2 separate regions of the Homo sapiens genome follow, and region 1 is linked to region 2. Evidence: promoter capture Hi-C in 16 types of primary human blood cells and fetal thymus (Javierre and others, 2016). All regions are on one chromosome and are shown on one strand. The core of a region is centred on a gene start or on the middle of the fragment in contact, and the rest is flanking DNA. Distances in the headings are between cores, read along the strand shown.

Region 1 (5,825 bases), core at 897-3,396, 2.1 Mb before region 2:
GAGCATTATTGAATGAAAGAAAAGCCTGATACATTTGATTATATTAAGAAGCTTGATTGATCAAAAGGAACCATGAAAAAGTGAAGGGGTAAGCTAGAAGACTCAAACTGAGAGTATACAAAGAAATCCTACAAATCAATAAGACAAATAGAAAATGGGCAAAATTTGAACAGGCACCTTACAAAAGAAATCCAAATGAACAATAAACATGAATAGAAGTTTCTCATTTTAGCAAACAGAGAAATATAATTTACAACCAAAATAAGATACCATTGGTTATTCACCAGCTTGGCAAAAACTAAAGTCTGCAAACCCAAATTTAGGCAAAGAGAACTCACACTTGGAAAAACCACTTTGGGAAAGTTTGGTAATATATAGTAAAGATGTTGATATGAATTCCATAAGACTTAGGAATTTCCAATCTTAGGTGTGTATGCTAGAGCAGTGGTCTTCGATTAGGAGGAACATGGAACTTTGTGCATGGTGACAGACAGCTGTATGGAAATCAGCTCTGCTCTCACACGTACTTCTAAAGTGATCTGGCTGGTAATGCGCCCAGGCTTGAGGTTCTTTCCCTCCATCATCCCTTTCACAAAGAAAGCCTCACCTCATCCAGAATCTTGCTATGGTGCACTGCCACAAGGCATCAAACCTTGGGGACAAAGAAATAATTTAATAATTCCCTTAATGAAAGCAACATAAATTATCCCCTCCCATATCTAATTCCATCTCATCAAGAGTTACGATTATCTATCACATTTCTAATATACTTCTTGTTTTGATCAACTGTGTACTATTGATAACTGCAGAATTAACTTACTCCAGAATAACTTTTACACCCTTAGAACTTAGAATATTGGGGTCAGAGGAAATTGTAAAAGATAAATTTCAATTTACATGCACATTTTTGTTACAAAGAAATGTGGTACAGTTATTAATAAAAGACTTGAAAATAGCACTCTCTAGAGTATTACCCATTAGGACAAAATTTTGCTAGAGGCATGTAAATATAATTTGAAAAAGAAATGATAAGAACTTTGACCACTAAGGAAGAATTTGTTCATTAGAAAATGAATGATTCTATCAAATCATATAAATACCATATTCCACTGGATACATTTAGATACATTTTTAAAGTAATGCAAAAAAAAGTAATGTGCAGTTGGTACTTTAAAATGTTAATACTTGCAATGTGCCAAAAATTACATTCTATGACAAGATGAAAATTTTTCAGTATTTAAGAAAGTTTAAAAAAAATCTTTGATGTGCTACACAAGCAACAAAATGTGAAGATCCCTTTCCTAGAGAAACACATACACCAGGCTACCTGTACAAGAACATTCAGAGCACATGTCTGTCAACAGAACAGGTAAATAAATTATGCCTACTCCGGATGCCTACTATGGATGACTATATTACAATGAATTACTGCCTAACAATGAAAATGAACTACACCTTCACACAAAAACATAAATGATTCTCTTAAAGTTAATGCTAAGCCAAAGCAGCAAGACCAAAAATTCTTATGGTAAGATTACATTTATGTTCATAACCAAACCAAACCAAACTGTATCGCTTAGGAATGTGTGATAGCTTATATTACATTTCTAAGAATTCCCTCCTCCTTTCCTGTAAGAGTATTACTCAGTGCCATGTGACTTGTGCTCTTTCCCTATGGAATCTAGCTCCCCAACCCTTCAACTCCTTGGCTTTGCCATGTGACATACTTGAGTCAATTAAAGGAGTAGACTGATGCTCATCACCTTCAATCAGAGGCTCCAAGAGTTTCCAACAGTTCTAACTGCCCTTTGGAATCCCAAAAGGAACTTTTCTCTCAATGTGGAATCTGGAATGAAGAGATGTGAGGAGTATATCCTAAGCCCCTATTGATGCAAGAAATACACATTTGTTTTTGTAAGCCACTGAGATGTTCCTATTGTCCATGATGGCAGTAAAGCTGATAGGATGCAACAGAGGTAGTAAACTTTTCAAGCAAGGCAAGAAAATGGCTAACACAAAACTGAAGACCGCAGAAAGGTAACAGGTTGTGATCCAGAAGAAGTATAGGGAGGGAGGCATGGAGTAATAGTATTGTTCCAACTGCTGATCTGAGTAGTAGTTACAAAGGCACATGCTTTATATTATTCAGTAAACTATATACAAATATCTCATAAACTTTTCCACATTTCCTTTTTTCCATTACAAATGTAAAAAAAAAGGTGAAAGACATTAATTCACAAGGACTTATGAATGTCCTTAGCCTAATACTTTTCAAATATAAGTTACTCCATATACCTCCCTTTACCATTAATGTTAAACATTTATCACTGAGATACTACTAGGAGATAGATTACATTTTACAGTAAAAACCCAGTTCATTTATCCTCTGAAAATCTGTCATGGAATGTCCTGAAATGCCTACCTTACATGAGACAAAACACCTGTGTAAGCCAATATAACTAAAATTAATCACACATTTTTTGCTTTTAATTCAATTTACTCAGTAAATATGTAGTGTCTTATAGTAAAATGAACAAGATAAACATAGCCTTCTTGCTCATGAAACTGACAAACATGAAACATATATATATGTATATATGTGTGTGTGTGTGTGTGTGTGTGTGTGTGTGTGTATATATATATTCCCAAGGGCAGCAAGAGCTATAAATGCTGCTGCAAAGTAAGGAAATAATGTTCCAGGAAAAAAAAATTAAGTACTGGATGATTAGGCTAGAGATTAGATCAGGTAACTCATGCCTGATAAGTGCTTTAAAATCTAACCCTTAACATCTAATATGCTCACCTTCAGAAAATCCTTAATGCACTACAGACAAGACACAAAAAGATAAATAAATGTTGACTATAATAAACTGGTATTCCCTGCTGGGATACAACAGGGGCTGGTCAGCTTAAGCTGGTGAGCATAAGCAGAAAGTGATAGAATGACTATGTGAGAAAGATTTATGCTTCCCATCCACCACATAGTTGTTCCTGAGAAGTGATTACCCAACTAAAGATTGTACTTCCCAGATGCCCCTTGCTTATCTGCACAGGGACGTGCAATTCGTTTTCACCCTTGGAATGCGAGTTGGTGGTGTGATACTCTGGGCGAAGCTAATTAAGCAGGTGGGCCTTCTCCACTCTTTTCCTCAACCCCAGACTGCCAACTTCAAGTGAGGTCTTGTCAACCCTGGGGCGGCAGTCACAAGCTGGAAGACACCTGGGTCCTTCAGTCACACCATGTGGAAAGCTGCCTCAATACCCACATTGGTTCCTTGTAAAAACGAGAAATAAACTTTTGTTTTCTTTTGAGATGGAGTCTCACTCTGTAGCCCAGGCTGGAGTGCAGTGGAGCTCTTGGTTCACTGCAACTTCCGCCTCCCAGGTCCAGGTTCAAGCAGTTCTCCTGCCTCAGCCTCCCCAGTAGCTGGGATTACAGGCACATGCCACCATGCCCAGCTAATCTTTGTATTTTTAGTAGAGATGGGGTTTCACCATGTTGGCTAGGCTAGTCTTGAACTCCTGATGTCGTGATCTATCCCCCTCAGCCTCCCAAAGTGCTGGGATTATAGGCGTGAGCCACCGTGCCCAAACTTTTTCTTATGCTACCAAAAGTTTGATGTCACCTATCATAGCACTTGGTGTTATTTTAACTAACAGAATGTTTAATCAGACTTTCAAATGTTGAGATGAGGGCAAGAGTCAGGTAGCAATCAATCTCTCTCTTAATCTCAATTAAGTGTGATTCCCAGTTAGACTTTTAGTCATCCTGGGTTGTCGGTGCACGTGCAGAGAATTAACAGCATTTAGAGATTCTTAAAGCAGCAGCAGAGGCTGCACAGTTGGATAAGCCATGGATTTCTCAAATAAATTTGAGCGAGACCCACACAACCTTGAGCAGACTTATAAGATGAATTTGTTTCAGATTCCTCAGCGCATGTCAGAACCCACTTCCTCCCCACTCACATCTGTTAGATTCCTTCCCACCCTTTGTACTCACTCACTAGGGAGCTTGCAGCCATTCCAAGCCACTCACGAGCAAGCATAGGGCTTAGGAGCACAAACATGGTACTTTTTAGAAGAAATGCACAGAGGCTTTGTCTCCAGTATAGTACTAATCAGTCCCTTTACTTCTCAACTCTTAGGTGCCTATTTCCAACTATACTCAACAGATACACAAGTGGAATGTGTATAAATTATGCACATGAAAAGGGAACACTTCAAAGCTCCTTCAAGCTTGAGGTTTATTTGGATATAAAGGTATACTTATTAAAGTGGTAAGTTTTCTTTTGGTCATGGCAACTCATTAATCAGGCAACAATTTACTGAACTCCGAATTCTTAACACTTCACTGGGAGAGAGGGAAAAGGACAAGAGAGTATGAGGAAAAACGTTTAAAAGAGAAAGTTCTGGTATACACTTGCCCAGGTTGAGAGAAAACAAAATAAAATGTAGCTGACCTCTTTTATCATTCCTGGTAACATACACTTAGGTTAAAATCCCTTACCCTCTAAATGCAATGATTTTCTGTTGTTTTGAGGGGGTATTTCTGTTTTGATTGTCTGAATTCACTAGTAAATAAACGTTCCCTTAGTGAGCCAGACCAGCCAATGTGCCCAAGAAGCTGGTGGAGGATCAGCCAACACCCTGGCCTTTCAAAGAGTCAGCTATTTGTTTTAACCCATTTCTTCCTGAGCTATACTTTAAACATGCATCCTGAGTTTTTTTTTTTTTCTTGATCAGGTCTACGGTAGGGTTTTCCAGTGTTATTTCAAAGTAAAGCAATTTATGTATCAATCTTATCACTAGCCACTATCACTTGGCTCTCTTAGCAAGTCAGAAAGAACATAGGTCACAGCAACTAGAGCAAGAGCAGCATTTACCTTTACTGAACTGTCCAACTGCCCCTGATAAGATCTAATGTCATTAGGAGCTCAAGAATGAAAAAAAAAAAACAGCACTTACAAAGGAGGACGGTATTAATGACAAAGAATCCCCATGGTTTGGTCACATTAGAAACACAACGCCTTCATTCTTCATCAATATTTATTGGGCGCCTATTATGTGCAAGGCACTACACTAGGCGCTGGGGAAGATACAAAGATAAATCTGACAGACTGCCCTCAAAGAGCTTACAGTCTAGTATAGGAGCATACAGTCTCTGGAGAAGATATTTTAAGTGTAACTAACCTCCCCCATCCCACCCCCACAAAAAAAAAGAAAAAACCTACTAGACTTGGTTTCTTCCATTTACTTTTAGTTTAGCAGCTTCACGTAAAAAGCATAAATCTGAAAGTCTTTTAAAATGCATACTTTTACTGGTAAACAAAATTCATTTTCATTAGAAAAAATGCTGAATATTTATTGCAATTAAGAAAAATCTTCAGCCGGGCACGGTGGCTCACACCTGTTATCCTAACACTTTGGGAGGCCGAGGCAGGTGGATCACTTGAGGTCAGGAGTTTGAGACCAGCCTGGCCAACATAGCAAAACCCCGTCTCTACTGAAAATACAAAAATTAGCCGGACGTGGTGGCGGGCGCCTGTAATCCCAGCTACTCCGGAGGCTGAGGCAGGAGAATCGCTTGAACCTGGGGGGTGGAGGTTGCAGTAAGCCAAGATCGCGCCACTTCACTCTAGCCTGGGCGTAAGAGCAGATCTCCGTCTCAGAAAAAATAAAAAAATTTAAAAAGGAAAAGAAAAATCCTCAAACATATGTTCAGTATTTTCATGAATTTTTTTATGAATGACTACATTGTGAAGTAAACAATTTCCCAAATTGCATCAAAAACATGCAACAATTTTTTGAAACATCTCTTTAAACTA
Region 2 (5,372 bases), core at 1,560-4,059:
AGAATGAAGCTCCTTTAAAATGAAGTTATCACATTAAAATGAAGTCATTATATTAAAATGAAAACAGAACAATTCATAAATCAGGTGAAGCTGGGTTAGTGTGATCTTTTCCTCCAATTCGCATTACCCAGCTGTCCAGGATACAAATCATCCCTTTACACACCGTTTCTCTATCTTTAAATAAGGAAAGGTAAGAAGGTCACCGATTTACAAAATCCTAAATTTAGTAAGCTTCCTACTTTAAGCCCCTCGCCACTCATTTCCACAGCCATTTCCCCAGGGTAGAGCAACTGCTCCCTCTTTATGAACCTACCTTTCTGTTCCTAGTCTCCTTTATCAACATGGTAGGCAACAGCTTATTGAATATACTTTATAGACTTGTGCATGCACATTTTAGTCACTATTTTTCAGCCAATAAATTACTTCAACTAAACATTTACATTTCTAGACAGAGATAATTTTAGGTACTGTCAAATGGGAGATAACTAGAAAAAGAGAAAGTCATCCTGAAATCACATTATACAAAACACTGGCCAAGAAGGTAAACCCTATTTAATATCCTTTAGACTGACTGGGGGTAGATGGACACACGGAAGCCTAAAAGGGATTTCCCAAGATAAGCCTTTACTTTCCTGAAAAACATGAAGTGAGGACTACTCTGGCTTTAACCGCAAAAAATGTATTCTTGGATTTTGCCACTGGCCAATATAGTAGGTCTGAGCTTCTTTCGGGTTCCAGACCCATCTATCGTAACACAATTCTTCTAGGGATACCTTCTTCCCAGTAACTTTAATGTAAATTCTATGTCTTTCCAGACTTCCTTTAGTCCTTCCAGATGTATATTCCATTTTCCCAGTGCAAGTAATTCTGTTTTACGTAACACTTTATGATATCTTCTCACCTTTCCTTTTTCTGACATTTTGGAAAACATTTCAGTGTCTCTTACATGATTTCTACCTCTGATAATGGAATTTCTGACAACAAAGTTATGTCTCTCTTCAGTACCAGTGAATAAATATTTTGAAGAGTAATACAAGCAGAGCTCGTGAACGAGGTAAGTGATAGGAGACAGAAAAATAAAGGGATTTAAAATTGGGATTATCACAGAATAAAATTACAGCTACTGCTCTACATTCTCACAAAGGGCTTTACTAAGTCTACTATAAAATTCAAAAGCCTTAAAAACAAGACATTAAAAGAAGCCAATCTATTACTTATGTACATTTTAACACCTTACTTTCATTAATGAAAAATACTTTTAAAAATTTAACATTTTCAACTTATAGCACTGATCAAAGGCAAACTAAGGAAAAAAGGAGATACCACTCAGCTTGCAGCATAGATTCAATAATAAAGAAGCTCTCAATATTCCTTTCTAGCTTCCTTCCTTGTCTACAAGTCAGATCTGCGCAATTGAACTTGTGGGAGAGGTTGTGAAAATAGTGTACTCTAGCAGTTTAGGATTTTCAACATCGCTCAATCTCATTGCTGTTAGAGGTCATTAAAACAATGCCTCCCAATAGAATGTCACTGGACCAGAGTGATTTTTGTTTAGAATGAAGCAACTACACTGACTCTAATAACAGTCAATGGCTAAGAGTTTGTGACATAGCACATAATGCTCGATATTATCTAAAAACACGTATCAAAAACAAAAAAGTAAAGATGAGAAAAACAGTTTATGAAACTGCAAAAGATATTAGGGAAATACTTCTCTAAGAGATAGGAGAAAGGTCTGAGAAAGGCAAAGCATCGAGAAAGCTGGGCGGGAGTGGGGAGGAGTAAGGGACAAGTAAAGAGTTCAACGGGACTGCTGTGTTCACACATAAAATTAAAAGGTCTGCAGATAATTCGGGAAAAAAACAGTCTAGCATGGCCATAATTCCAGAGTAAAAGAGAATAACAACTTCAAGATTAACTTGTTACAGTGAGGGAAAAATCTGTAGCCTTCAATAAAGGTGGAGAAATATTTGAAAAGCTGGGGAAATGCCAACAAGGAAAACACGAACTGCTGTCCTGTCTTCCTTATAGTCAGGAGCCGTTTGTATCCTCACCCCAGAGGATCCAATAGGAATCAGTAAGCCTATAACTTTCCAACCCTAAGTCACAACCTAATTCTGATAGGATGAGCTACCACGATACTTCCCACTTCGTTGTGACTAAAAGCATATACTAGTTGGGTATATAAGCAAGGCTCCCCTCCCGCCATTTGATTTAAAAGAATGAAAAGGCGGATCTGGTCATTCGTCTCCGCCCGGGGTCTCTGTAAGGACGGCGGAGAGAGGCGACCTCCGCCCAATACCAGGCGCAGCCTTGCCGTCTCCTCGGGGCTCACCAAGCAGCCACCAGCAAAGAAGCCGGTTTCAAAGGCCCAGCACGACAGGGAGAGGAAAACGGAGCATATGCAACCATACACAGTCACCAGAGTCCAGCCTCCCGCAACCAGTCGCTACAGCCAGGCGCCTGCGCCCAGAAGCGCTTCTCGCGCCGACCGTTTGTATTTGGAATTGTGGGTTCCTGCCCGCCACGCACCACCGCAAGACCTTCAAAGCTGGGAGCTTCTCTGTGCTCCAGGATTCCTCGCTGCCGATTCCACACCGCGTTCAAGACTCCTGTGAAGAGCGACTCCGCTGAGAGCCTCCTCAATGGCCAGTCCACTTCTAACTTGCAGCTGAGAAGTTTTTCTGATCTTGATGGTCAGAGTGGCTCGTGCTACGAAGTGAGAAACAAGGAATCTATAGCGAATCGTAAACAACAGAAATAAAAATGCGTCTCCGTTAAGAGTCGGAGCCTAACGTCACTTCCGGCAACAATAGGAAACGTCAAAATTGGGATAGTCGGCAGTTCTGGCCCCTGCAGCTGGAGGTACCCTGAGTTCTGAGGGTCGTAGTGCTGTTTCTGGTATTCTCATCGCGGTCACCTCTACCGGTGTGGACAAGTAAAGTTTGAATCAGCTTCTCCATGGCCTGGGCACCAGTTCCCGGCTGAGCCATTTTCCTTTTGGCTAAAAGTCCCCGCCCAGAGGCCAATTCGTCGCGGCGGCGGTGGAGATCGCAGGTCGCTCAGGTACAGGAGTCAACCTAGATATTTTAGATCTCTTGTCTCTTTTCCCTGTTCACCTTCACTTTTCTCGAAAATAAAGACAACCAGTGCTTGCCAGTTGGCCGAAACTGGCCGACCAGCAAGAGTTTGCGACCAATGACAGTGCGAAGCATCTTGAGTGACAGTAGTGGTGGCTCATTAAAGTGAGGAATCACTGTCAGGAGGCGGAACTGGGTGTGTTCCTTCTGTTTCTAGGCCATTGGGGTGTAGTTCGGTTTAGGACTCCAAGTAGTAACCCAGCGTCATTGTGAAATAAACCTGAGAAATGACAAGGGTTACTTTCTTCAGGTCCAAGTGTTGGTTTTCGGGTCGAGTGTTATTTTGGTTCCTAGACAGTTTTTGGTTCTTTACCACTTTCCAGTAATATGAATGCAAACACAAGTATAGTTAAGATCACGATGGATTGCTAGCTGCTACAGTAGTCAAACTTGGGTTATAAAACTTGTCAAACTTGTCTTTTATTTGTTTCTCAGCGACTGGGTTCTAATCTCTTACGTAGAAGGTTCTCAATATTTATTTGGCAAAATCACATAAATGGATCCCAATCCTCAGTCATTTAATTTTTTTAGTTTTATTTTTAGGTTCTGTATGAATTTACTAATAAAATAATTGATTCTACTTGTTTTACAAGTAAAATATTCATTTTCAAGGCTCCTAGGTGTATATCCACAAATGAATATATCATGATTTTTATTACGGTAAAGTGAAGACAATTTATGTTTTCTATTTCAGCTTTCCTCTTCCTTCTTTTAATGTTTGAAGTAATGTATTTCTGAGGTAGGAGCTCTACACACTTCTCAACTCTACCCTTCACGAAAATGATATGTGAAACAGAGTAGGTTTCAGAATAAAGAATGCATAAGTTTTATTATTTTTTTCATATTGGGTCAGAAATTCATCTTTAGCCAATTAACCTGACAATATGTCTGATGAGGTACTTCATTAGTTGTCTATTGCTGGGTAACAAATTACCCCCAAATTTACCCCAGCTTAAAACAACAAATATTATCAGTTTCTGTACATCAGGAATTAGGGTGCAGCGTAACTTCATTTAATAATAAGTTACAGCAAATTAACTAATATTACTTGGGGCCCTTGGATCAATTACTTCCATCCACAAAATATTATAGTAACTTCTAGATAAGCCAAAACATTGATCATAATTTATTACATATGGTCACTTTAATGGGGAATGTTTTGTGTGTTTACTGTTGCTAGGTTAAAAGATATCTTCCTCATTTTACAATATAAAAACATTGAATTACCAAATCTTTAATCACAGTGTGTTGAAATTAGTCATTCAGATTTGTAACTTTATGGTTTATTATTTAACCAACTGCTAATGTACAACTAATTTTTTCCTCATTTTGATTCAGATTTGGAAACTGGCACTATTCCATTGACTGACCCATGATAATGCATCAAAATCATTAATACTAAAGTCTAAGAATTATGCATTTAATTTCTGTTTCTTTTTCTTGAATTATTTTACTTAAATAATTTTTTAAACAATTTAAATGAAATACATCTATTTCTGGAAATTTATGTTCACTATTTCTTTTTCGTTTTGCTCTCATTGTTTTGTTTTTCTGACAAATTTCTTGACTTAGCTCTCTAATAAACTAAAACATTTTTGGCTGACTTGAATAAATTTATATCATATTTGGGGCAAGTATTTTTTTGAGACAGATTTTTATTCTGTTGCCCAGGCTGGAGTGCAGTGGTGCGAACAAGACTCACTGTAGCCTTGACCTCCTAGGTTCAAGCAATTCTCCCTCCCACCTCAGCCTTCAGAGTACCTGGGACCACAGGCACACGCCATCACGTGTGGTTATTTCTTTTAATTTTTTTGTCTGACTGTGCTGCCCAGGCTGGTCTTGAAGTCCTGAGCTCAAGCGATCCTCCTTCCACAGCCTCCCAAGGTTCAGGAATCATAGGTGTGAGCCACTGTGCTGGTGCAAGTACTTTATAGCAATATAAGATAAAAATATTTGTGGTTTGGAGTTTAGGCAACAGCTTTAGGGAGTTTAACCATTTAGTCAGCAGTTCGTGTATTTTTCAAGAATAGATTGCATAGGATTCATAAGCTATTTGAATGAAGGAACCAGATTTTAGCAAGTAAGCCAAGCTTGGAGAGACTCTATATGGAGTAGTGATTTGTGGAAGTCATGAATATAGGGAAAAAAGAGATGGAAAGGACAGATGTTAAATACACACACACGCACGCCATCATCTCTTCTTTTATTTATTAATTTGTTTTTCAGAGTTTT

Evidence for each region. The method cuts DNA at HindIII sites, captures the fragments that hold promoters and counts their contacts. A CHiCAGO score of 5 or more calls a contact.
Region 1: a fragment that was not itself captured here is called in contact with the fragment with the promoter of FBXO8 in region 2 in 9 of 17 cell types (non-activated CD4 T cells, total CD8 T cells, naive CD8 T cells and 6 more); the score reaches 17.6 in non-activated CD4 T cells.

Annotation. Positions count from the first base shown.
Region 1 is chr4:176,331,449-176,337,273 of GRCh38, reverse strand. It overlaps SPCS3 (signal peptidase complex subunit 3), which reads right to left. Exons shown (of 5, transcript NM_021928.4): 5 at 5,029-5,825. Among named protein-coding and RNA genes, the nearest start is that of SPCS3-AS1, 14 kb to the right of the region's middle. The HindIII fragment of the contact is 4,185 bases long and covers 54-4,238 here.
Region 2 is chr4:174,281,104-174,286,475 of GRCh38, reverse strand. It overlaps FBXO8 (F-box protein 8), which reads left to right and starts at 2,809. Exons shown (of 6, transcript NM_012180.3): 1 at 2,809-3,066. It overlaps CEP44 (centrosomal protein 44), which reads right to left and starts at 2,565. Exons shown (of 12, transcript NM_001040157.3): 1 at 2,533-2,565. RefSeq lists a silencer at 2,333-2,600 and an enhancer at 2,365-2,614. The HindIII fragment of the contact is 4,999 bases long and covers 234-5,232 here.